Linked DNA regions of Homo sapiens: region 1 is linked to region 2. Evidence: promoter capture Hi-C in human tissues and cell types (Jung and others, 2019). All regions are on one chromosome and are shown on one strand. The core of a region is centred on a gene start or on the middle of the fragment in contact, and the rest is flanking DNA. Distances in the headings are between cores, read along the strand shown.

Evidence for each region. The method cuts DNA at HindIII sites, captures the fragments that hold promoters and counts their contacts. A contact is called where the count stands out against the background at its distance.
Region 1: a fragment that was not itself captured here is called in contact with the fragment with the promoter of BUB1 in region 2 in 1 of the 25 tissues and cell types used here (pancreas).

Annotation. Positions count from the first base shown.
Region 1 is chr2:110,638,647-110,641,346 of GRCh38, forward strand. BUB1 (BUB1 mitotic checkpoint serine/threonine kinase) reads right to left here. Exons shown (of 25, transcript NM_004336.5): 22 at 2,661-2,700; 23 at 2,388-2,559; 24 at 1,096-1,202. Among named protein-coding and RNA genes, the nearest start is that of SNORD132, 18 kb to the right of the region's middle. The HindIII fragment of the contact is 3,511 bases long and covers 1-2,700 here.
Region 2 is chr2:110,676,796-110,679,495 of GRCh38, forward strand. It overlaps BUB1 (BUB1 mitotic checkpoint serine/threonine kinase), which reads right to left and starts at 1,268. Exons shown (of 25, transcript NM_004336.5): 1 at 1,175-1,268. The coding sequence starts at 1,200. It overlaps LOC105373554 (a long non-coding RNA gene), which reads left to right and starts at 1,417. Exons shown (of 2, transcript XR_923189.4): 1 at 1,417-1,802. RefSeq lists enhancers at 524-1,444, 1,445-2,365, 1,878-1,937, 2,198-2,287 and a silencer at 968-1,367. The HindIII fragment of the contact is 12,584 bases long and covers 1-2,700 here.

The DNA of each region.
Region 1 (2,700 bases), core at 57-2,556, 38 kb before region 2:
GGTGTTGGAGAGAAAGTAGAATGCAAAGGAATTGTGCTCCACATAGGAAATGCCATCAGGCCTGCTGAGGGTTAACTTCCAGCTCTTCTTCACACTGGTGGTCAGAGATGAAACTATCTGTTCCTTCAATTTTGAGCCAAAGATGGAATAAAGTATTTACTAAACATGAGGGCTCATTATGCAGAATAAAGAATAGTTGTTATAAGCTTTCCTCCAGGGCCTGAACCTAACCTTACTTATGTACAGTATATGACATTTCATAAAATTATTGCCATTTTTCTTTTTTTTTTGTGGGGGCTGGGGGAGATGAGGTTCACAGATGAGGTTCCTACTCTTACGTTTTCTCAAGAAGATATAAACATATGTAAAAGTCCATTAGGCTGTACACTTAAGATGAGTGTACTTTTCTGCATGTTTTTATGCCTCAAAAAAGAAAGTATAAGTGATATAATGAATATGCAGGTACCAAATACTCAGCTTAAACAAAACATTCCAACAGTTTGTTCACACATTGTGTTAGGAGAGCCATCCATGTTGACAGGAAGAGCTCTTGCCTAATCATGAATTTTCACTGTGATTTATAGATAAAAAAAAATCTTTGAGAAGCCCAAGAAACACAGGGCTAGGACTGTCCTGTGAGAGAGAGCTATTCATATTACTTTATAATTTATGAAGCACTTTCACATACACTATTTCCTTCGCTTCTTACAAATATCTGACAAAAATAGGATCAGTATTTCCATAGACCAAAAAAAAAAAAAAGAAAAAAAAGAAAAAAGAAAAAACCAGTGAGAACCTGAGGTCCAGTGACATTAGGTGATTAGGGGTGGAAACATTTGCGTGTGTACAGGATGTCAACCATTTGGCCAGGAGCTTTCAGTGAGGACATCAGCTGCCCCAGTGGGGAGAGAGAAGTGGTAAAGCTATGCAGCTTGCTCCCTGTGCCCAGTGCCCAGGACTGTCCTGTCACCATATTGCCCAAGGCATAGGATTTCCATGCGGTGGCAGAGATCCTTTTTTTTTTTTTGCCAGATGGAACCCAACATTCTACTTTAGTTATTCTCTTTTCACTACAGCACCAATGCTAATACTCACCTTCTAAAAAGACCTTCAGGCTTACACTCTCCTCCTTCATTTTTCACTTTCATGTAAGTGCCAAAGAGCATGCAATATACTGTTGCAGCAACCCCAAAGTAATCGATCTATGAAGAAGATAGAGGTATATATGACTTAAATAGTAATTTACACATGACTATATCAAGATGCCTGTCTAACTTAGGCAGCAAGTTAAATACTCACAGGATTTTACTTTTAAAACATTTTGGAAGGCATTTGTTCAATCGCCCCACTAACATGTCTTACTGAATATCTAGGCTTTGCCACAGGCTTCCAGTCTCTTGAAAAGCTCTGCCCTCCTGAGCTACCATGTCCCTCTCAAGTCCTTCATTCTGTCACACAGAGGACAAACACAACACTCTAAGCCCTCTTCCACATAGACAGCTTGGAAGTCCTCCCAGCTCACTCCCCTGGGACTCTGGTCGTAGTTCTCTAACTCGCCCCCATGGCCTCTTGTTGTGTGATATGTTCATAATTGAAAAGAACACTCCAGCCCCATCCACATCCACAGGATAGAAGATGACCATCTCCTAAGGCCTCACTAGCAGTGACAACATACCAGAAACAAGACCCCTCCCCACCCCCACCAAATCTTTGCCCCTTTTACCATGGGCTCCTGGAAAGACATAGCTCTCACCAGGGAACTTGGCAGTTGGTTTTGTTAAACCCAGGTTCAAAATATTTCATTTATCCCAATTAGCATTCTCCTCCCTGGTCACCTAATATTCTAGTTGGTTGAAAATTCAGCAGTCTTCCATTAGAATAATAATGATCCATTTCTTGATCTGGCCAGTTAGGAATCTGGCTGTACCATCTATTACAGTCAAACCCACCATCCTGCCTGAGAGCATCCCAGGTATATCCAACATGTGCTCAACTCTGCCTGGAGTGGGCATGCAGGTCTCCCTGTTATCCCTGATTTAGGAAATTGGGCTGGCCTACCTTGATCTCAATAAACCAAGCTGTCTCTTTGCTGCATGACTTCCTTTCTGAAGGGTTCACTAATCATTAAATACTCTTCCCTATGATCAAACTCACAGAATATATCTGCCCCCCTTTCCTGATAACAGGATCTATAATGGACTAATAAGAAAGCAGAGTATTCTTCAGGAATAGAATTCTATCCCTGCCATGTTGGCCTTAGGCTCATCTCTCCTTCAACTGCTCCTCAAAAGACCACCTCAAACTACCTAGATCCCCAAATTCATTTTGAAAATCTGATAAGCGCAACACAGAAAAATATTTCCAAGTCCCTCACTTTAGTTTTATACCTGGTAGTTCCATGGTTTGTTGCTGAGCATCTCAACACACTGAAAACCAGATGTTTCACACTTTGCTGTGAATATAGTTCCTTTTGGAAAAAGTTTCATATCTATACTCTGACCCAGGTCAATCAGTGCCAAGCCAGCAGATAAATCATCTTCATCATCCTGTTCCAAAAATCTATATTAAACACAAACAAAGCCAGGCTGCATGAGCACAAATGATGAAAGGCTGCTATGGAAATAGGAAGAGAAGAACCCTGTTAAAAGCATAACACTTGCCCGTTTCCAAGTATGAAATTGTCTGGTTTAATGTCTCCAT
Region 2 (2,700 bases), core at 18-2,517:
TTCCAAAAAGAAACTAGAAAAACGGTTACATGTGACAGAGTGGGACAGTAGTCAGGTACAGGAGTTCTCGGTAAATACTGTTCTAAATCTTCTTTTAGTCATATAAACGCATTGCTTATTTTTAAAACTAAAAAAAATAATAATTCTGAAGTTTGAATGTCTCTCATGTCTTATAGCAGAGGGACAAATCCCTATTTCAGAACCTTTCTTCCAAAATATGTCTAGTAGGCTCGCCCAAGGTAAACATTTCATATTCTAACACCAACCACATTTCTCTAGTAAAATGACCTAAATGCACTGTAATAGTAAAACATCCAGTTCATTAAAGCACATTAATCTTTAGTAAGTCAAAACAGGACCAGGAATATCTGCTTTACCTTTAAAAAAGGGGCGGGGGACTTCTGAAAGAAAATAATTTGCTGGCTAGGTTGAAGGTTACAGAAAAAGTCTTAGAGCAAATGGATTTTTGTTTTGACTGCATTTAACAATCTCGGTCTTCTGATCGCAAAGAACTGATAAAACGGACCAGTTTTACTTCCTGAACCTATGACTTAATTGTTTTAAATGCCTTTAAGTAACAGTCTGGGTAAATCATCTAAGTCATAAAACAAAGGCGTGGGAACTTTAAGTAAAAAGTGAGTGATGTTAGCAGGTTGGCACACATCACTCAATAATGAGCAAAGCTATTTTTTTTCAATTTTTTTTTCTTAAAGTACCCTGTATTCAAAGACTTTTAAAAAATAGCAGTGAGATTATGGATAGGAGAGCAACTTTAAATTCGTTCCCTACTGTAGTCGAATTGTTAAATACGTGACTTTGAAAACGTATCACAAAATCTAAACACAAGGTTCAGGATTTTTGTTAGGTTGAACTGTCAGGAGGGGATTCCTTACAAAGAATAAACGAGAGCTCTGAGGGCCTAACGAATTATCCAGATTGCTCCAAACGGCCACCGCGGCGCAGATGGGCGGACAAGCGCCGGGCCTCAGCGGAACCCAAGGTGCCGGAGCCCTCCCCGGCTCTCAAGCAGCCCACGGCCTTGCTGGGTGGGACACATTCCAAACCCAGGAAGGGGGCGAAGGGGGCAAAAGAAGGCAGGTCTGGGGCGGGCCGGGCCCGAACCCCAGGCGCCCCAGCCCCCTGGGCTTCCCCACCCCACCAGACGGACACTTACTGAAGGACATTTTCCGGGGTGTCCATGGCCAGAGGACGCTGGCCGGCAGCGGCCAAACCTGAACCGCAAACTAGAAGCCGCCGCCGATTCGAATACCCCGCGCAGCCGCAGTCGGCTCGCCGAACGTTTCAGGGCGCCTGCCCATTGGTGGCGGCGGCAGAAGGTTGGCCAATCACCGGGGCCGTTGCTCGGAGGTCAAGTCCCACCTCCCTCCCTTGAGCCAGTAGCTCCTCCCACTTCCCGTGGTTTTCGGTTGAACCGAAACCTGGCCGTTGGCTGAGCGAGCGCGGGGTGTTTGGGATGCGGCACGGCGAGGGGGAGCAGGCTTGGCTCGGGCGTAGGGAATTGGTTTTTTTGTTTTAGCTATCCAGGTTGTGACTGGTTTACATAATTACACGATTAAGCCATCATTGTAGGAAAGGCTTTGCAGGAGAAAAATGTCTTAACTGGAGGTCTTTGAGACAGAAAAACCCTGCCTCAGCCCTTGGGTCCTGAGAGTCGCGTTTCTTCTCCCCTTCGCTTAAATATGTAAACCAGAATCATTATGTTTGGTTCATGGAACGGAGGAAAAAAATCCGTGTGCAGGGTCGAGACTGTCGTGGCGGAAGCCGCAGCACCCGGGAGGCAGGTGGGGAGAAAAAACGGGACCTGCTGCCGGGGACCCCTCCCGCTTTCTGGCAGTTTTCTATTCAGCGTCCTCGGCTGTGAGAAAACATCCCAGATGCTGAAACCAATAGTCTTAGCCCAGAATCTCAAACGCCGTGGCAAAGAGGGAGTGACGACGGCCTGTGGAAAAACCTGAGGAGTTTTGGGCTTAGCGCCTTCATGTAGAGGGGACGTGGAGGCGGGGAGGGCGTTCTAGGGTCGGCTGCGTAATTATACGAGGCACTGGAAAGTGATGGGTTAGTGTCCTTGGAGTAGACCCCTGGGTTTTATTGAACTGATCTGAAAGGCTGGGCCCTGAGCCACACAGGGGACCTGTCAAACAGCTTCAAGCGGAAGATGGGGCTCACGGGACTGGACTCTCTCTGCAGCCAGCTGTAATTAACACAAAAGCAGAAGAGTTTGGGTAGATTATAGAATGCCAGCTTTGAACATCTTTTGGGGGACAGGGCACTCTGGGAGACCAAGTTCTTAGACACCATAAAATCAAAAATAGACACCTCTTTGTAGAGGAGTCCAGATGTCTAAAGAGGAAATATGTAATAGGCTGATGTTTCTTTTGTTTTTTGTTTGTTTGTTTTTTGAAAAGTTAAAATACTAAGTTTATAAAGTGAAAAAGTTACAGTAAGCTAAGGTTGACTTATTGGAAAAAATGTGCTTATACTATGGAATGAGACCACCACTTCTCCTGTTGTCCCTCCCAGCTTCTTCTCCACCACCTCCCCTTTTCCCTAGTTTATAAGACAGGAGAAAAGTGAGACAGCAAAAAGTTAGAAAGAAACAGAAGTAAGATAAATAGCTAGACGACCTTGGCGCCACCACCCGGCCTTGGTGGTTAAAATAATAATAATAATGTTAACCCC